7 separate regions of the Homo sapiens genome follow, and all the other regions are linked to region 4. The links are contacts of gene promoters, found by promoter capture Hi-C in blood cells and fetal thymus (Javierre and others, 2016). All regions are on one chromosome and are shown on one strand. The core of a region is centred on a gene start or on the middle of the fragment in contact, and the rest is flanking DNA. Distances in the headings are between cores, read along the strand shown. Region 1 has its middle 16 kb from the start of OR5BS1. Region 2 holds the start of C12orf54 (chromosome 12 open reading frame 54). Region 3 overlaps VDR (vitamin D receptor). Region 4 holds the start of CCDC184 (coiled-coil domain containing 184). Region 5 overlaps HDAC7 (histone deacetylase 7). Region 6 overlaps VDR (vitamin D receptor). Region 7 overlaps VDR (vitamin D receptor).

What was found. The method cuts DNA at HindIII sites, captures the fragments that hold promoters and counts their contacts. A CHiCAGO score of 5 or more calls a contact.
Region 1: a fragment that was not itself captured here is called in contact with the fragment with the promoter of CCDC184 in region 4 in 2 of 17 cell types (M1 macrophages and megakaryocytes); the score reaches 5.9 in M1 macrophages.
Region 2: a contact is called between the fragment with the promoter of C12orf54 here and the fragment with the promoter of CCDC184 in region 4, in 4 of 17 cell types (megakaryocytes, M1 macrophages, neutrophils and 1 more). The highest score is 6.4, in megakaryocytes.
Region 3: a fragment that was not itself captured here is called in contact with the fragment with the promoter of CCDC184 in region 4 in 1 of 17 cell types (erythroblasts); the score reaches 6.5 in erythroblasts.
Region 5: a contact is called between a fragment that was not itself captured here and the fragment with the promoter of CCDC184 in region 4, in 1 of 17 cell types (fetal thymus). The highest score is 6.9, in fetal thymus.
Region 6: a contact is called between a fragment that was not itself captured here and the fragment with the promoter of CCDC184 in region 4, in 6 of 17 cell types (erythroblasts, fetal thymus, naive B cells and 3 more). The highest score is 8.8, in erythroblasts.
Region 7: a contact is called between a fragment that was not itself captured here and the fragment with the promoter of CCDC184 in region 4, in 1 of 17 cell types (erythroblasts). The highest score is 6.4, in erythroblasts.

Annotation. Positions count from the first base shown.
Region 1 is chr12:48,542,308-48,545,007 of GRCh38, reverse strand. No RefSeq gene overlaps it. Among named protein-coding and RNA genes, the nearest start is that of OR5BS1, 16 kb to the left of the region's middle. RefSeq lists a silencer at 2,474-2,583. The HindIII fragment of the contact is 5,711 bases long and covers 1-2,700 here.
Region 2 is chr12:48,481,166-48,483,865 of GRCh38, reverse strand. It overlaps C12orf54 (chromosome 12 open reading frame 54), which reads right to left and starts at 1,368. Exons shown (of 9, transcript NM_152319.4): 1 at 1,290-1,368; 2 at 505-626. The coding sequence starts at 569. The HindIII fragment of the contact is 2,624 bases long and covers 165-2,700 here.
Region 3 is chr12:47,860,143-47,862,842 of GRCh38, reverse strand. The region is part of intron 4 of VDR (vitamin D receptor); the gene reads left to right. Among named protein-coding and RNA genes, the nearest start is that of LINC02354, 32 kb to the right of the region's middle. The HindIII fragment of the contact is 480 bases long and covers 1,109-1,588 here.
Region 4 is chr12:48,182,220-48,184,919 of GRCh38, reverse strand. It overlaps CCDC184 (coiled-coil domain containing 184), which reads right to left and starts at 1,276. Exons shown (of 1, transcript NM_001013635.4): 1 at 1-1,276. The coding sequence starts at 797. The coding sequence ends at 213. The HindIII fragment of the contact is 3,853 bases long and covers 1-2,700 here.
Region 5 is chr12:47,806,660-47,809,359 of GRCh38, reverse strand. All of the region lies in intron 1 of HDAC7 (histone deacetylase 7), which reads left to right. Among named protein-coding and RNA genes, the nearest start is that of HDAC7, 12 kb to the left of the region's middle. RefSeq lists an enhancer at 359-428. The HindIII fragment of the contact is 4,820 bases long and covers 1-2,700 here.
Region 6 is chr12:47,839,704-47,842,403 of GRCh38, reverse strand. It overlaps VDR (vitamin D receptor), which reads left to right. Exons shown (of 10, transcript NM_000376.3): 10 at 1-867. It overlaps LINC02354 (long intergenic non-protein coding RNA 2354), which reads right to left. Exons shown (of 3, transcript XR_007063292.1): 3 at 2,296-2,700. Among named protein-coding and RNA genes, the nearest start is that of LINC02354, 12 kb to the right of the region's middle. The HindIII fragment of the contact is 1,088 bases long and covers 780-1,867 here.
Region 7 is chr12:47,885,485-47,888,184 of GRCh38, reverse strand. The region is part of intron 1 of VDR (vitamin D receptor); the gene reads left to right. Among named protein-coding and RNA genes, the nearest start is that of VDR, 18 kb to the left of the region's middle. The HindIII fragment of the contact is 2,009 bases long and covers 298-2,306 here.

The sequences.
Region 1 (2,700 bases), core at 102-2,601, 360 kb before region 4:
AATTAGCTGGGCATGGTGGTGGGTGCCTGTAATCCCAGCTACTCAGGAGGCTGAGGCAGGAGAATCACTTGAACCCAGGAGATGGAGGTTGCAGTGAGCCAAGATCATGCCATTGCACTCCAGCCTGGGCAACAAGAGTGAAACTTCATCTCAAAAACATTATATATATATATGTATTTTTTTCCATGGTAGTTGTTTTGGTCCATGTGTATCTCCTTCAACATTTTTTAATGGGGTTGTTCTGATTATTCCTCTTGATGGTTGTCTTTCATTGCCTGTTTGTACTATTGTTTCGTTTGCTCATTGTGGCAAAAGACTGGCTATTTCAGTTCTTTAAGTGGTAACAGTCTCATGAGAGAAGGGAATCTCCGCCTGTAGTGTAGCACCAGATAAGTTGCCAGTCCCACTTCCAGGCACCCACCTCTGCACTCCAGTTTTATGCTTTCCCATCCTCAAGACAGGGAAAACTTCCTCTGTTTTAGTTCTTCCTTAGATGCTTGGGAGTCAGATAGAGAGGTGCATTTACATGGGGCAATACCAACCTTTCAGCTGTATATCCATCACCCGAGTGCTAATGTTCCTGGAACATCCATGTTCAGCCCCCGGATAGAAAGGGTCACACACGCTGCAGCAGCTGCTGCTGCTGCTGCAGACGGGACTTCCATGGGACCTGGGGCTTTACCACTCCCACCTTCCGATTGCTGTAGCTGCAGCTTAGCTCAGGAAAGCCTTGGACTTGGGATTAGAGAGTATGGTGGGACATGTTCATGTTAGATATAGATAATATTAGATATATTAATGGTCAGTCATGCTGCATCTTCAGTTGATTTTGCATATCATTAGCTTATTCCATTAAATACTAATTATATTATTTAATAGAAAAATCTATTATTTTCACTTCGAAGTTTTATGAGACTTTATTCAAGTCCTTGAGTACTTATGATTTATTCTCCCTCCAGAAAAAATTTCCTCAAACCCAGATATCTTCTAATGTCCGCCTTTCTCAAAATCCCCAGCAAGCTCTTTGGTTATGGGCTTAGGGCAAAATAACCCTAGCTCATTTAGACTTCATTGCAGTCTGAATGACCAACCTACAATTTCTCCCCTTGGCTCATGAGAAACCCTCCCTGCTAACCTTCTGGGCCTCCTTGCTGACCCCACACTTGCTATTCAGCTCCCAATAAACTGCAGACTTCCTGAGGGTAAGAGGTTTTTTTGTACTAATGATGACAGTTAGACAGGACTCCATTGATAAAGAAGACTCCAGGGACCCAAAATGACGTTGCTTACAAATCTATGATTTGCAGGAAAAATGATACAAATGTAGCAACAGCATTAAAGTAAGGATATGCACCACAGCCAAAAGCTGCCTCCCATCAAGGAGTCCTGGAGACAGCCCTGGAGGGAGCTCCAATATTCTTCCCCCTACAGGGTCATACTAGCATGTGCTCACTCTCTTGATTAGAAACCACCAATGTGTATGTGAAACACATCAGAACCAGGAGCTCAGACAATCTGGGTATGTATGACACGTCCTTCCCTTGATCCAGTCTAGTGAACTAGCAGCTGCCCCATGAACTGTCCCTGCAAAGGTAGCGGACAACTGAAGATCCAGTGTAAGCCCAAATATTCCCTTAGGAGCTGGCAAACATTCTTCCCTACTCAGCAGTGTTCAAGGACAGGAACACTGCACCTTGATCTAAAACCCTCAGGAGCCATTTCAACAAGGGCTCAAAGGGAAGCTGCTTTTAACACTACAAAATGTCTCAATGATTTCACTTAACAACCCCTTACTTTCATGTTTCCTTTTGCCGTCCTTCCATTATCAGTCAGCTTGCCCCATTTGAAATGTCTTTTTTTTTTTTTTTTTTTTTTTTGAGACAGAGTCTTGCTCTCTCACCAGGCTGGAGTGCAGTGGCATGATCTTGGCTCACTGCAACCTCCACCTCCAGGTTCAGGTGAGTCTCCTGCCTCAGCCTCCTGAGTAGCTGGGACTACAGGCACGAGCCACCACGCCCAGCTAATTTTTTTTTTTTTTGTATTTTAGTAGAGATGGGGTTTCACCATATTGGCCAGGTTGGTCTCGATCTCATGACCTCGTGATCTGCTCCCCTTGGCCTCCCAAAGTGCTAGTATTACAGGTGTGAGCCACCATGCCCGGCCGATAACAAATCTTTATTAGCAAAGAACACAGAATAAACAACTTTACAACCAAAAAGTAATTTTTGCCATAAAAAGGTGGCATATATATATATATATAATGGCTGAGGAATAACCAAAACTTGCCATGTAAGGCCAGTAAGAAAATTCCAACAATTAACAAGAATGCAATTTTCAATGGCCCATTAATTACAGAAAAATTAAACAACTACATCAAAATTAAAATTGCCTACATATTAGAAATACATTTCAACTTAACTAAATATCTTCTTAGTAGTAATTAGTCTCATAGTTACAACCCGGTGTCAGGTTATGGTTGCCCAGCTTCCTTTGGTTGGAGCGCCGTCTCCTGGCCAGAGAATGTGAAGCTCAGCCAAAGGAGATCTTTGGGCTTCCTTTTACCTTTGCTAATGCAGCAACCGTGGAACTGAATTTTAGTGGACCTGCCACTGGATTGAAATTTCCTGCCAATCCATTTTACTAGCTCCTGAGGTTTCAGTTTTATAATTTTCAGATCTCACTGGGAAGGTTTATTATCAG
Region 2 (2,700 bases), core at 119-2,618, 300 kb before region 4:
AAGGCTCAAGCCAAGTTCTGATTCCTTATGAAGCTTTCCTGACCCATAAGTTCACAGTAAACCCTCCTTCTTTTCTGACTTCATGGATACCATCACCTGGGTCTCATATTTAGCCTCAAGCAGCAGATTCTAGCCCTCTTTTCCACTGTAGGCCAAGAGAAGCTTGATTTTAGATGGTTGACCTTGATTTACACTATAGAGGATATAAAGGACTTAGGCAAAGTCAATCCTGGAATAAATTAATGTCCCTAGTTTGTATACCCCGCCAACCCCTAGAGGAATTGCAATTGATGCCTGATTTCTAAATTAAAATGACAAAGATTTGCTATTATCTCTTTCATTAAGGAGATGGAGAAGAGGGAGGACACATGAAAGTCCCCATCTTATTCAGCCAGGAAGCAAGTGAAGCCAAATGAAGAGCCATAGAAGACAGGAGGCCCTGGTTCTTCTCCCATAGAGTATAGCAATCTAAGGATGTTTGAGGGTCATCATTAGCCCCATTACCTTCTCTGCTGCTTGGAGGTCATTTCTACCTTTTGTTCCTGATCCTGGCAGGGATGCTGTGCCATTTGTTCTCAGACAGAAACCAAGGACTCTGGAGCTGAAGATGGAGATAGCTCCAGGCCCTGGAGAGGCATAAATGAATATGCGGAGAAGGCAGGTACATGGTGAGAAGAAAAGCGCTTATTCAGTGGAGAACTACCAGCAGTTAATGGAGCATTTGTATTTTGAATGGGTGAGTGTGCATGTGCATGTGTGTGCTTGCATATATGTGCATGTATGTGTGCATATGCATGTACATATGCATAAGGAAAGATGAAGGTAAGAGGAGGGTAAGAGGAAGGAAGTATTTGCCCTGGGTAAAATCTTCCTATAGTCTTTGTCAGTAACAACAGAAATTGCAGTGAGGAAGTAGACGAAAAAAAAAAAGAGAGAATCTAAGTGAAAAATAAGTTGGCTGAGATTGGGGATGGGGGATTGGCCAAAGGGTCTTTGAGTTCAGGCAAGGACAGGAAATAGTGTAGAGTGAATGCAAGATTGTCAAATACCCCACCCCCTCCCACCTCAGTCAGAATTTTCATGGTTAACTAAGGATAGAGGAGTTTCAGGATGGAGGGCCATCAGCTCCAGCCTTAAAGTGCTTTGTAGAGAAGAAGGGCTCATAGGCAGTGGCCCAGACAGGAGACAAATCCTCCTTTGAGAAGTTTCCCTCCCACTTTTCCCACTCCCACCCTTCTTGGCCTCCAAGCCCCAGTCAAGAACGAGGTCAATTATGCCTAGAAACTTACCCTGCTTGGTTCCCCAAATTACACTTTGCCCCACTCCTTCACCCCTAGACTTTTTCCTATTTGAGCCCCATCTCACAACAGCCTCCTGTTCCCATATCAACCTTGCCATTTTCAATACTTTGTGACTTCAGCTGTGACCTCATAGACGGACAACTTGCTTTCCCTCCCAGCCACACACTAGGCTCCATTCAATCCAAACGATAATGGTAAAATGGAGGGATAATGTTGTGGGATTTTAATTTTAATTTCTGGGAATTTTTGCTTCTTCATTGCCTTCTACCCATTGCATTGGAAATCCATTGATTCTTAGAGATGAAAGGAATGAGGCCAGAAGAATCCAGTTTTTACTTTGAATTTCAAAATCAGGTCTGAGAAATCTGGCTTTCAATTTCAAGAGCTAGGTCCTTCAGAGAGAAATGGTTTTGTTGTGAATTCCCAAAGTCTTTGACCTAGAAAATCACCAAAGATTTGTGAATGATCATGGATTTAAAACCATTTAGATTTAGAAGGGATGAAAACAGTTTTTCTGAAGAAAGTATAGGGTTTTAATACGGAGGCAGGAAGTGAAAATTAGGGAAGAGGCATTAGGTGTAGGTGTGCAACTCTGGGACCTGCTTCCTTTTGGTGATGGTGCATATAAAATATCCCAATATGTCTAGAAATCTAAGAACAGAAGGAACCAAGGGCCAGCTTCTCCCTTGAAACTAGACCCCTGGAGGAGCAGCCTCAGAGAGAGCACTGTGCCTACATGGGGAGGTCGTGGTGAAGTGGGAATTGTGGTATAGCGTGTTTAGGCAGACAGGACCTGAGATAGTACCTTTCAGGTCCCATAGCCTGCCCAGGTGATGGTGGGAAAACTCCTCATGCAGAAATGCAGAGTGGAGAAGGAGAGGGCTAAAATCTAAAGAGGACTCACAAATCATGCAACCTGCGACAAAATGCCAGGGTATGTACAACAGATGGAGGTGTCAACATTGGCTCGGCGCTCCACCTGTCTTTAGCAGACTTTAAAGGAAAGGCATACTGTCCCATCCCTTGTTTTGATTTTAGAGCTCCAGGTGCTACTAGTGAGACCACCATGGACCCTCTCTGCACACCACCTTCTTACTATCATGAAGTGCTTCAAATTAGACTCTGATTAGAGGTTACTCTCTCCCACCCTCTAAGAGACCAGCAGGGCCATTTCCATCATAATCTACCTTTTTATTTACCTCAGTTTCCATAAGGAGTCTAAGCTCCTCCCTTTATCATCTCACATCACAGGGACTTTTACCCTTTCATGGCCAGATGTATCTCATAATCCAACTCAATTCCTACCTCTCTCAAACCACCCCAAGTCTTTTGCTATCCAAAAGTCATTTTTTTTAAAAAAAAAACTCTATTTTTATTTTGGATTCAGAGGATACACATG
Region 3 (2,700 bases), core at 99-2,598, 320 kb after region 4:
ATTCCCAGCCTCAGGTTAGTCCAGCTTCAGGAGGCCTCACCAGTGTGAAGTCCCCCGGCCTCAGAACCCTGGGAGAGCTGCACATTTCTTATCTGGGCTGGGTTTTGTCCCCAAGGCATAGCATCCCAGAGACAATTGAGTGTCTCAATATTTGTAAAACCACAGGAAGAAAGCTAAAAGCCCAGGCTCCTGCTGTCCGAGCAAGGAGGTGGGCCTTCCATAGAAGAGGCACAGGAAGGGAAAGGATGAGGACAGAAACCCTGTGTATTGACCAACTACTGTGTGTCAGATAGCACATCAAGCACATGCATTTTCTTCTGAAATTCTCACAACACTCCCTAAATACGTAAATACTTTTATTTTTTCAATAGCTGAGGAAGCTCAGAGGAATTAAAATATCATGGCTCTCAGCTAATAAGATGATGGTATCAGCATTCATTCTAATCTAGGTCTTTCTGCTTCCAAAGGGCAGGCTTGTGGGCCACACCCGAGGCAGCCTCTCGTGGCCCCAGTGGGTCGGAGCTCACTCCATTGTGCATTTCCAGGCACTTTCACATGCTCTAAGAGATGGATTGAAGAGAGCTTGGTCCCACCAAAGACTCATTTTCTCTCTTTTCCATTCTTAGTTGACTTTATACCCTGGGAACCCAAGAAATTTTATAACTGAGTTCTTGCTTTTTGCTTATACTATTACCTGTCCTGCACAGAACCACACATTGTGGTAACTTGTTTGATGTTTTTACAGATGTATGTCTTTTCTCCCTGGTGTTAGTAAAGTACCTGGCACATAGTAGGTGCTCAATAAATGTGTGGAATCAATGAATATTAGCTCCTCATTATGCTTCTTTCTCTCTGTATATCTTCCACAGGTCTATAGATCAGTAAGATTCTCCCAAACCTGATCATGTCTGTGCCGTTCATTTGGAAACATTTTATGTCCTCTTCCTGTGGTTGTTCTTAGCCCATCCTTGGCATCTTGAAATGTTTTCAAATTGTTTATGTTGCAGATCTTGGCTTCGTTAAGGAGAGAACATGTCTTGCATGGGAATAACTTGCGCAAAATTATTTCACACTCAGCAAGGAGCTTAAAATGAAGTCAAAAAAAGCTTCTGAGCAGCCATGTAGGTTTTACAAAGTCCACATGCCAAAACTCATGCACTTTAGACGCCTGATCACCAGACAGCCCAACACTCTTTCAGAACCTGTTTACTCTTATTCTAGGTCAATGGCTTCATATATCATATAGTGTCTTCCTATATGATAGTAATGACATCTTAGGTTCAATCCATTGAAAAAATGATAAGAAATTTCCCATGAAATTAACAAGATCTTTAAACAAATTATTTCGTAAATCACAGTGCATTTGCATATGTGAAAGACTTTAGACTTATTCAGTCCTCAAGCAATGTTGCCTTGCAGAAGGCTCATGGATTGGGCCTGTGTGAAACTGGTAGATCTCAGCATTTCTTCCTCTGTTACCTCCATAGAAGATGGAGGTTGCTATTTGATGCAAGTGACTGGGAGGAATCATGTTATAGGGTTAAACTTGAACTTTCTTTGTCTCTTTAAAGTGGGTAATTTACAAGCTTTGTGACTTAATTTTATTTTCACACTCTTCAGATGGATTGGAACACAATGCCTGTCAAAACTCCATGGCTGAAAGCCAAAGTCCGCTTATAACCAGATGTAATCAGACACAGTAGAGGCTAGTGGTTATGACCTTCCACTCCAGAACCAGACTGCCCAGGTCTAAATGCTGGTTTCACCACTGTTAGCTGTGTGACTTTGAGAAAGGTAGAAAGCCTCTCTGGGCCTCAGCTCCCTCATCTGCTAAATGGGAATAACAACAGCACCTGCCTTAAAGGGTTGTCATGAGGGCTAAATATATGAGTTAATATACAAAAGGCTCTCAGAATAGTGCCTTATAGATAGAAAAACTCTTTATGTGCCATCCAGCATTACGAATATTTTCTTTTTATTACATCAAACTTGATCACCAGAACTTCTAGCTCCCAAGAGATCAGAAGTAAGTCTTAAGGGGGAGAAAGGCACACATCCAGAGGCAGACACCAATAAGAAGACAACGCATAGTTTAACAGGGAGGTGGACACTGGAAGCAAGAAAAGCAGCCCAAGAACTCCAAAGCCCAGCACGCCAAGCCATGCAATGCGGGGCAGACAGCCTCTGACAACTCTGAGGCTGTAACCTTGTCCTGCAATGTTCAGTAATTATTCAGAATGATACCTCTGAATCATCAGGGAAAGGTTATATGACGTTAAAAGTGTTCCGTTACAAGGTTTTCTGTCTTGAAAATCTTTCCATAACAATTGTTTCAATAAAAGAGGTCAGCTTTCTCAGCTCTCTGGTGTGCCAGGTGCCATTCACTACATTGCAGGAGACAAGCAGCACTAGAGTACTCACTAGCCTTTCCTGAACCAGGAAAATGATTTGCACACAGTTGGTGTAATCTGTGTGGATGCATTTGATATTTGGTGTCAGACTATTGAGCAGACACCACGGCCAGGTAGCCCCTCCGGTCTAGCCTTTATGGGGGAAATATAAGAATTGTAAGACAAAGGCCGGGCATGGTAGCTCACGCCTGTAATCCCAGCACTTTGGGAGGCCAAGGCGGGCAGATCACCTGAGGTCAGGAGTTTGAGACCAGCCTGGCCAACATGGTGAAACCCCATCTCTACTAAA
Region 4 (2,700 bases), core at 27-2,526:
CGCTATAATTCGCTTAGTTGGGCAGAAAGAATTCTCGATGCTCCCAAAGTCCTTCACCCTACAAATCCTTCCTCGAGGGAGTCTCTCTCTGCCTGACCCACAAGAGCAGCTGTCCAAGTGAAGCATGCCGCACCGCGCCGTTCAGTCCCCCTCGCGTCATGCACTCGGAAACCCAAAGACAGCCCGGGAAGGTAGTGCCCCACGGAGTCCCCTCACAGGGAGGCCTCGCCCTCCAGTTGCAGCAGGGTAATGTCGGGCATGTCGAGGGGCTCCACAAGTGGCCCGTCCCCCCCAAGGAGACCAGCACAGGGGCTTTCGGGGCGCTCACAGTGACTGGAGGGTGTGGCGGGGCTGGGCATCTCCTTCTCTTCTTCCTCTTCCTCCTCGTCCTCGGGATCGCGACCCAGCAAGCCGCTGTCCCCGATCCCAGGCGAAGGAGTCTCCGGCTCTTGGGGGTCGCTCTGGAAGCTCCCCTTGCCGCCGACCACGCCCAAGCCGCCCTGGCGGGGCGCAGTGGTCATAATCTGGCACATGGAGACGATGGCTCGCTGGTTGGCGCACACGTCGTCCGAGAGCACCTGGATGTGCGAGGCCTGCTCGTCCAGGGCCCCCCTCATGGCCCTCACGTCCTCAAACAGGGCTTGCAGCTGGGCTTTCAGGTGCTCCATCAGTTCCTTCATGCCGCCGTTGTACTCCCCGGAGATCACGTCCCCCACTGCCGGCACGGTGGACACCTCCAGGGGCGCCGGCATGTCGCCGCCGTCCTTGGTCATGATCTCCAGCAGACCGTCCTCCATTGAGTGGCAGAAGCGGGTGGCGGAGGCTCTGGGTCGCGTCCAGCCCGGCCTCCGGGGTGGGGGAGGGGGTGGAGGGGGAGAGGTCCCGGGAGGGGCTAGCGGGAGCCGAGGGAAGCGGAGGCTCCCGAGACTGGCGGGGAGCCGACGTGAGAGACGAGTCCTGGGCAGAGGGCGCAGGCAGGATCGCGGGAGGCCGAGAAGAGGCTGCGGGACGAGGACCCGGCGAGGGTCCCAGAGCCGGCGTCTCTTGGGATCGCCCCGGGACGAAAGTGCCCTGCCCTGCCTCGCCTCCCGGATCGCGCCCGTGTCAGCGCCGCCCTCTGGGCGCCACAAGCAGAGAGCGCCTGCCGGTTCCGTGGGTCACAGACGCGCTCGCGGAGGGGTCCGCGTCCAGGCTGAGGCCAGCGGCGCGTCGGACTCGGGACTCCCCCAGGCCATTACCGGGCAGCGCCCGCGAGTGTGGCAGCAGCAGCTGGGGTGGGTCTCCCGGGGGTGTCGCGGATGCTCCTCTGTTTCCAAGGCGACGCACGGCACGTAAATGACGTGTGTCTCCATGGTAACCAGGAAGTGGCGAAGAAAAAGGGAGGATGGCTGGAAGCTGCAGTGGGGCTCTGGAGTCTGGACTAGCGGGGTGGGGGGAGGAGAGGGGACGCTACAGTGGCTTCGGCCAAGGCTGGAAAGAGCGTGTGGTCGCAATGTTTAATAGGGAAGTATGAGAGAGCCGTCTGCTGCAGAAACCTCCAAGTCCGGGAGAGATCGTCCCTCCCCTAGCCGGGGTATGAGACCCAGCGAGACTGCCCTGGAAAGATTTTTCCAGCCCGCATTCCTTTCTCAGAGGATGGCGCTAAAGTCGAGTCCTGCCTCCCTGTCCTCCAGCGATGCGCAGGAAAGCGGAGAGGGTAGAGAGGCTGTTGCTAATGATCCCAGAGTTGAGCTGGGGCACGGTGGCGCTCTGGAGCCGGACCCACCGGGCCTGACGGTGCAGAGGCAGGAGGAGGGCGCTACGGAGGTTTCTGCAGTAAATCAGCCCTCTAGCTATAGAAATCACCGGAGCGGGGGAAGGATGGGACTCCCTCCTTTATGAGACCCTACCGCTCCTACGCAGGTCTCTGGGAGTTTGTCCCAGATGGGGAGGCCAAGTGCTTAAGTTTTGAGAATGAAAGCTCCATAAGGGGAGAGATTTTTGTCTCCCCTGCACCCTCCATCACGGAATCCCCAGCTCCTAAAATAGTGCCTGGCACCTAGTATGTAGATGCTTAATATAGTTATTGAATGAATAACAAAAACCACCAAGTCCCACGCTCTCATCCAGAACTCCCCAAGCCAAACGTAGTGGGTTTTAGGAGACCTGAATTCAGTTTCGTTTCTGCCACTTATTCATTCAGCGACCTTGGCCACATCATTTTCCTCATCTGTTAGGGAATTGGACTGGATAATCTATAATACTATTTCTAATTCTGAATAACAGTCTGCATCATCTCACAGGTGAAAAGGTAAACTGTTGACCGTTGTGTGGAGGGTATGGATGGGGGGACTGTGTGTTAGAGTAATTCCCGCTCTCTCTTTCAGTGCCCAAGTTCAGACATACACTGAGTATCCCCAACCTTTGTGACAAGCCCTTTCCCTATTTAAGGGGTGGAGCAGGAAGGGTGGAGGAAGAAGAAAAATTGTCTTTAATATACGTAGATGATTGCAGATTGAGAAGGAATCAGCACCTGGGCAGAGCACAATAATTAATAATGACCCTAGGAAATTAGGGAAGCCAAGTGATCGGAAGCCAAAAATGAAGTTCATAAGAATAAATCTGGGAAAGAGAAACAAACTATATCACTTCAAGATAGAGAAGAACTACGTAAAGGTGAGTGTTTTGTAGACTGGCGGTTCAGTGACAGCAAATGTGTTA
Region 5 (2,700 bases), core at 161-2,660, 380 kb after region 4:
AAGAGTGAGGAAGGCACATCTCGCTCGGCCTGCAGCTGGGAGAGGCAGAACCAGTGGGCAAAGCAGGAGTAGGGTACACAGAGGGGCAGGGTCTGCATGAGGAGGGCCCAGGAGCTGGGGTGACAAGGAGAGCAAGGGAATGAGTGTGACACCTCAGAGGGGAGAAGGAGCCGCCCCTAGAGGCAGCCTGGGGCGGTGACTGTGCTTCCTGTTGGGGCAAACACTGGCCCTTGAGAAAGACTGGCTCACACTGGCTGCTAAAGGAGCAACTGGTCTAAGTGGGGCACCAGAGGGGTAAAGGCGAAGGGGAGAGATGAAGGCAGAAACTGGCCGACTTATCCCCATGTTACAGATAGGGCCTCAAATCTTGCCTGCTCAGGATGTTTTGCTTATGATAGGAAAGATGGTAGTTAGACATCATGGTGAACTTCCTATCTCAGGGACTGGAGATACTGGAGCAGAGGAGTGAGGATGAATGTGGAACTTATGTCTTTGAGGGCTTTTTGGAACTGAGAAATCTTAGGGTAGTGTGGACTAGGGGAGCCCACTGGCTCAGGAATTCCCTAAGTGGGCAGAGCAGTGCAGGGGCAGGCCAGGCTATAAGCTGAAGGCCATGGGTAATAGGAAGTAGATGCAGGCCCTCCAGGCCTGCCACCGCAGGAAGTAGCTATGCCCTCCCCTTCACAATGGACTTGCAGGGAAGGCTGAGTGGTGGCCCGAGAGGTCCCGGGAGTTGGACAGGGCTGGGAGGACCCCTGTTTTTCTCTGTCAGAGGACAGCAAGGGTCTCCAGAGAGTGCCAGACCCAGAAACCGACAGCCATACGCAACTCAGAATGGCCCAGCTCCCCGGCCTCAGGTTCTGCCAGGTCTTCATCCTTGAGGAGAGGCCACAGGGTGGAGCTGGGGATCTGGGGTGGGGGACAAAGAACCAGGGAGGATGCTTTCCCACCCCCAGGGAGCTCAAGCCGCTGCTGCCATGGTTACATCTGCTTCCTGTTTGATTCATCTCAAACAGCAGAAGTGGAGGTGGGGTGGGGGGGCGACACTGGCTCCCAGCTCAGGCCACTGCTGCGTGGGGCTGTTTACAACAGCCGCATGTGGGATTCCCAGAAAGAGACTCCAAACCGGACATCCTGCGGCTGCAAAATACCCAGGTGTCAAGAGCTAAAAATAGCTGCCTCAGGGCCCCAGCTGCCCTGAGGTGGCGGAGAAAGAGGCATGCTCACTGTTGCCACCCTTACATCCAGCCTCCTGTTTGGTGTGCAGGAGCTTCTCTGTCCTCTTGCCTCGGACTGATGGAGGCCTTCGTCTGGGTAGGCAGACATCCCGGCTGGCTCACCTGGCAGCTGAGCCTCTGCCCTGATGGGCAGCTGGCTCCTCTGCCTATACAGAGAAATGGTGCAGCTTGCTTTGGGACGCTAATGAGAGAGTCCTAGAGGGACTTGGGAGCTTCTAGAGAAGGGATATGGCAGGGCACTGAGAGCAGGGGAGTTGGAGCTGAGGGTCCTCTAAGACCCCAACCCATTGCCAGCCCCCTGTTTCCAGCACACAGTCCCAAATCATTGCTTGGTTTCTACAAAGTCAACAGTTGCTCCAAATGATTCTTTGAGATTGTCTTCATGGGCACCCAAAGATGACATAGCTTCTGCCCTCTCACCTGCGCAGGGCTGGGGATTGCTGCTGGCACGGGTCTCTGTGGGGCTGTGTGATTTTTTTTTTCCATCTTTCTGCATGCCCATCTAGGTCCTGCATGTGTCCTTTGCTGGCTGGCCTGTGGCGAATGGGAATGCTGGGGAGGAGGGGTGGAGTGTATTGGTTGAGAGCGTGGATTCTGAAGCCCAATTGCCTGGGCTCAAGTCCCAGCTCAACCTCTGCCACTTGTCTGTGACCTCAGACAAGTTATCTAATACTGCTGGGCCTCAGCGTACTCATTTATCTAATGGGGATAAAACAGTAAATACCTCATAGGTTTGTCATGTGGACTAGATAAGTTAGCAAATGTAGGGTACTTAGAACAACTCCTGGCACATAATAAGGTGTTCGCTTACAAAAGTTCAGGTGGAAGAGAAAGGGAAGAGAGCATAGTTGGGAGAGGCTGGGGATAAGAGATAGGGCAGGGGGCTGGGCACGGTGGCTCACGCCTGTAATCCTAACACTTTGGGAAGCCGAGGCAGGCAAATCACCTGAGGACAGGGGTTCGAGACCAGCCTGGCCAACATGGCAAAACACCGTCTCTACTAAAAATACAAAAATTAGCTGGGCTTGGTGGCTTATGCCTGTAGTCCCAGCTACTTGGGAGGCTGAGGGAGGAGAATCACTTGAATCCAGGAGGCAGAGTTTGCAGTTAGCTGAGATTGTGCCACTGCACTCCAGCCTGGGTGACAGAGCGAGACTCCATCTCAAAAAAAAAAAAGAGAGAGAGAGAGAGATGGGGCAGGGGCATGCATTCAGGAGAAAATGGTCTGTGGTAGAGGAGGGAGGAGAGTTGGGAGCAGACACTGAAACGCTAATGCCAGGAAGGAGGCTGCAGACAAGTACAGGAGGCAAACTAATACTCGCTACCACAAGGGAGCACCCACCATGTGCTGGGTGCATCACAGACAGCATTGCTAATCTCAGGTGACCTCTTTGAAGTAGGTATTCTTTTTGTTTGTTTTTGTTTTTGTTTTTGAGACGGAGTCTTGCTCTGTCGCCCAGGC
Region 6 (2,700 bases), core at 74-2,573, 340 kb after region 4:
GACCCCCACTCTCATTCCCCAGGTGGCTGACCCAGTCCCTGGGGGAAGCCCTGGATTTCAGAAAGAGCAAGTCTGGATCTGGGACCCTTTCCTTCCTTCCCTGGCTTGTAACTCCACCAACCCATCAGAAGGAGAAGGAAGGAGACTCACCTCTGCCTCAATGTGAATCAGACCCTACCCCACCACGATGTGGCCCTGGCCTGCTGGGCTCTCCACCTCAGCCTTGGATAATGCTGTTGCCTCATCTATAACATGCATTTGTCTTTGTAATGTCACCACCTTCCCAGCTCTCCCTCTGGCCCTGCCTTCTTCGGGGAACTCCTGGAAATATCAGTTACTCAGCCCTGGGCCCCACCACCTAGGCCACTCCTCCAAAGGAAGTCTAGGAGCTGGGAGGAAAAGAAAAGAGGGGAAAATGAGTTTTTATGGGGCTGAACGGGGAGAAAAGGTCATCATCGATTCTACTTTAGAATGAGAGTGTGAAATAGACATTTGTAAATGTAAAACTTTTAAGGTATATCATTATAACTGAAGGAGAAGGTGCCCCAAAATGCAAGATTTTCCACAAGATTCCCAGAGACAGGAAAATCCTCTGGCTGGCTAACTGGAAGCATGTAGGAGAATCCAAGCGAGGTCAACAGAGAAGGCAGGAATGTGTGGCAGATTTAGTGAAAGCTAGAGATATGGCAGCGAAAGGATGTAAACAGTGCCTGCTGAATGATTTCCAAAGAGAAAAAAAGTTTGCCAGAAGTTTGTCAAGTCAACCAATGTAGAAAGCTTTGCTTATGGTAATAAAAATGGCTCATACTTATATAGCACTTACTTTGTTGCAAGTACTGCTGTAAATAAATGCTTTATGCAAACCAATTTGCCTTATCCTTATAAGGACCTTATGGGAGATGAATCATTATTACCCCCATTTGACAGAAAGGATAGCTTGAGCAATGCCACACTAGCAAGGGATGGGATTTGAACCTTCAGCAGCTAGGTTCAGAAGCCACAAATTAACTGCTACATTGTCCTGCTTCCTATTGAGTTGGGGGACCTGACAGACGACTGATGGTCTTGCTAGCTCTCTCCTAGAGAGGAGATAAAAGAGGTTCCCATTCCTAAAGCAGGCCCTGAGCCAGGAAAATTAGAGGTGCTGGACCAAACTGTGCTCTACTCCCAGGAAGTGTGCAGTCAATATATGACACCTACGTGAGACCCTCAAAAATGAAAACCAAACAGCTACTGGCAAAACTGTGTCTGCCATTAGAGATGGCGGCTGTGCCAGTGACCTGGAGGATTACAAATGACTGCTGTGCAGAAACAGGACTCCTAAGGGGCCCAACTTATGCCGATGCACTCCATTCTGCTTCCCAAGGAAGTGGGGTTTATGATGAAGGGTAGCATTGCTAGGCACAGTAAACAAGAACACAGCATTGTGATCTGAAAATAAGGAAATCATGCCAGCTAATGTATTGATTGAGGATAAGTTGGCCTGGGGATGTGATTCACTCTAATTTTTCAGAAACATCTGAAAATATTTCAAACCAAAGGCTAAAATGTGTTTCAGTGGGATGAGATGGACTTAGGGGAATTGGGGTTAGAACTTGAGGGTTATTTTGTGAAACATGAAGGGACTTAGAGAAAGGAAATCAACAGCTGCATAAATGGGCATGTCTCTGGCTGGAGAAATGTGGAGAATGGAGTTCTGATACACTGTTAGAAGGATCTTATGTAGCATTTTTATAGCTGACCTAGAAGAACACAAAATTTCCAAGGCTGTGTTATAATGCGCTTTTCCAGGTAAACCAAGAGGAATATACCCCAGGAAGGTTGCATAATTAGGATCAAGTGTTTTCAAGTTTTCATATTCCAAGCTTTGGTTCTATGCCTACACTGTTCAATCCAGTAGCCACTAGCTACATGTGAGTATTTAAATGAAATAAAGGTAAACATCTAGCTTGTCAACCGCACAAGCCACAGTTCCAGTATTTGATAACCTCAGGGCTACCGTAAGAGACAGTGCAAATACACAACATTTTCTTCCTTTTTTCTTTCTTCTTTCTTTCTTTTTTCTTTCTTTTTTCTTCTTTTTTTTTTTTGAGACAGAGTCTTGCTCTGTCACCCAGGCTGGAGTGCAGTGGCACAATCTCGGCTCACTGCAACCTCTGCCTCCCAGTTTCAAACCATTCTCCTGCCTCAGCCTCATGAGTAGCTGGGATTACAGGCACCTGACACCATGCCTGGCTAAGTTTTGTATTTTTAGTAGAGACAGGGTTTCACCATGTTGTCCAGGCTGGTCTTGAACTCCTGACCTCAAGTTATCTGCCCGCCTCAGCCTCCCAAAGTGCTGGGATTACAAGCGTGACATTTTCATCATCGCAGAATAGTCTATGGGGCAGCACTGGTCTACACAATGCATTCTTATCTGGTACTAATTGTGAATGACTCCATGAGGATGCTGGCGTCATGTGCTTCTGTTGATCTGTAGGGCAGAATGGCCACTAACTTGACATCATATGGAAGTGCTATAGGGAACATCCTCCCCTTACAATGGGCTATGCCACACCTGGGGTAGTTCGAATGAGTCTGCTTCTTAAAAGAGACATAAAGCAAAAACACTGCACAGACCATGGGGTTGATAGGCTCAAAGCATCATGTGGTATAAATAGCTCACTGGTGTGCTAGGAGTATTGATTCCTTTAGCCCTGG
Region 7 (2,700 bases), core at 53-2,552, 300 kb after region 4:
TTATGAGATCTGATGGGTTTAGCAGGGGTTTCCACTTTTGCTTCTTCCGTATTTTTCCGTTGCCACTGCCATGTAAGAAGTACCTTTCACCTTCCGCCATGATACTGAGGCCTGCCCAGCCATGTGGAATTGTAATTCCAGTTAAACCTCTTTCTCTTCCCAGTCTCAGGTATGTCTTTATCAGCATCGTGAAAACAGACTAATACACCCTGATACTGCAGGGGGTGTCAGTCCATGGCTTTTAGCAGGTTCTCAAAGGTGATGCATAGTCCCAAAAGGGTTAATGAAGAACAAGCTTCAGGGGTAAACTCCTTCCTACAACTACTGTGTCATCAGCCACTGAATTTCCCATCGTTCAGTCAGTCATAACTGGTGAGCCTCTTAAATGTTCTTAGAGGTTCTTAGAGCTGCGTTGCTGGGGCCCAGCCTCCTCTGGAAAGAGCCAAGTGGCAGACAGAGGAGGTGGCAGCCCTGCTGGGAGCACACCCAGCACTCACACTGCTCCATGGGCCCTTTCCATAGAACAGACACTGTTCTCTCCAGGTGCAGGCCACAAAGGTGGACGCTGTCTGTGCTACCACCTTACTCACTCTTCTTGTGGGGATCATGATCAAACCTGGGAATTTGATGGAGTCTAAATCAAAATTAAGTGTAACCCAGGCTATCTTCTGCTGCTTCTCCCCTGCAACTTCACTCACAACATAAGCATTATAGAGTGTTCTATTTTTATAATTTTCTGACTGATGGAAGTGAAGTGTCTTAGGGCTTAGTGTCTTAGAAAAGTCTAAGAGTCTTAGAAAAAGGGATCCTTTTCCTTTTTAATTTTTCTTTTCTTCTCCTTTGTTTTTTTTTTTTTTTTTTTGAGACGGAGTTTTACTCTTGTCGCCCAGGCTGGAGTACAACGGTGCGATCTCTGCTCACTGCAACCTCTGCCTCCCTGGTTCAAGAGATTCTCCCGCCTCAGCCTCCTGAGTAGCTGGGATTACAGGCACCCGCCACCAAAGCCGGCTAATTTTTGTATTTTTTCTTTTTTTTAGTAGAGACAGGGTTTCGCCATGTTAGCCAGGCTAGTCTCGAACTCCTGACCTCAAGTGATCCACCCACTTTGGCCTCCCGAAGTGCTGGGATTACAGGCATGAGCCACCGCGCCCGGCCAGGGCTCCTTTTTCTAATGTGCATATGGTACCATATGGTGGCCCCCTAAGCCCTCCTCTAGAGCTCCTGTGCGAATGGCCTAGTAGCTTTGTCTAACATGGCTACAAAGAGCTATCTAGGAGGAGCCATTGAAAGCTATGGGGTGCTGTTCCATCTGTGCATGATACAGAGCTTTCTAAGCATAGAGCCATCCAAAGAGAGTGGATTGCCGTGGGAGGTGGTTCTCCACTAGGAAAATTATTCAAGCATGGGCTAGAAAACTGTTTGGCTAGAATATCATAGAAGAAATTTAAGATGATTGGACTAGGTGGTGCTGTTGCCTTCCAATCTTGAGATTTTCAGAGCTGAATGTTATCTCTTGGGTTTTACTGTGGACATTGTGGTCTGTAGAAAATAATTTCCAATCGTTCTTACACATATTTAAAAGATGTGTGTATGAAGGAGCTGGGGAGACAGTCGGGGCAGGAAGTAGTTTGGATATGTTCTATTTATACAGTAAACCCTCTCCACTCCCCATTATTATCACTCTGTTCTCTGTCAGCTTCTTCTGGGAGGTACTGAGACTGTTCTGGACAAAGAAAATGGATACATGGTGGGGATGGTGGAGAAGAAAGAGAGGGTATCACCTTAGCTGGCCATGATATTATTATGCCTGAGTTATGCACCAGAATAAAGAGAAGACAAAAAGTTAGGTAGGTCATGCAGTGCTTAGCACTCGATGGGGCAGAGTTTAATGGATGATGAAACGAAAAATAGCAAGACAAGGGTGTGTACGCACAAGTACATGTGCGGTTGTGGCTGGCGGACACACAGGCATATCTTCTCCTGGAAAAGCCCAACACTTGGTTGACTCTGTGTGTGGCAATTTTAGGAAGAAGAAGAATTGTCTCCCACTCTGTGGGGAAATAGCTTAGCTTTCCATTTCTTTCTAGAAGGAGTAGGAACTTTGGAACAATGTCAACAATTAGAAAGCCCAGTTTAGATCACTCCAGTCCCAACCTGGCAGAGAGAGGACCCCTCTCCTGGGGTCGATTAGGGGCCACATCTTTTGTGCCCTTCCTGCTCATTGGCATCTGAGGATGAGTGAGTCTCACTCACTGAGGCATGAATGTTGTGGTTCATCTGGCTAATGAGGGATCAGGGAGAAAGCTTCATCTCATTTAAGGTCTTCTTTCCTGGCGTGGCTCACACCTGTAACCCCAGCTACTTGAGAAGCTGAGGTGGAAGATTGCTTGAGCCCAGGAATTAGAGGCTGCAGTGAGCTGTGATTGTGCAACTGCACTCTAGCCTGGGTAACAGAGGAGACCTTGTCTCTTAAAAAGAAAAAAAAATAGTGCTTCTCATGATGGGAATTCCAGTCTTGGAGTTGCATGCTCTCAGAGCTAGAAAAGACATTAGCGGTCAGACTTCTTGTCCACTCCATGGTCCTTCTCAGAGTCACAGCTTTACCACCCTTAGGAGGGTCCAGTCAATGTGGAGTTAAACTGAGCCATGAGGGACTTTGATTTTTGTCCTCCCAGGGCTCTGCCCAGGACACCTGGCAAT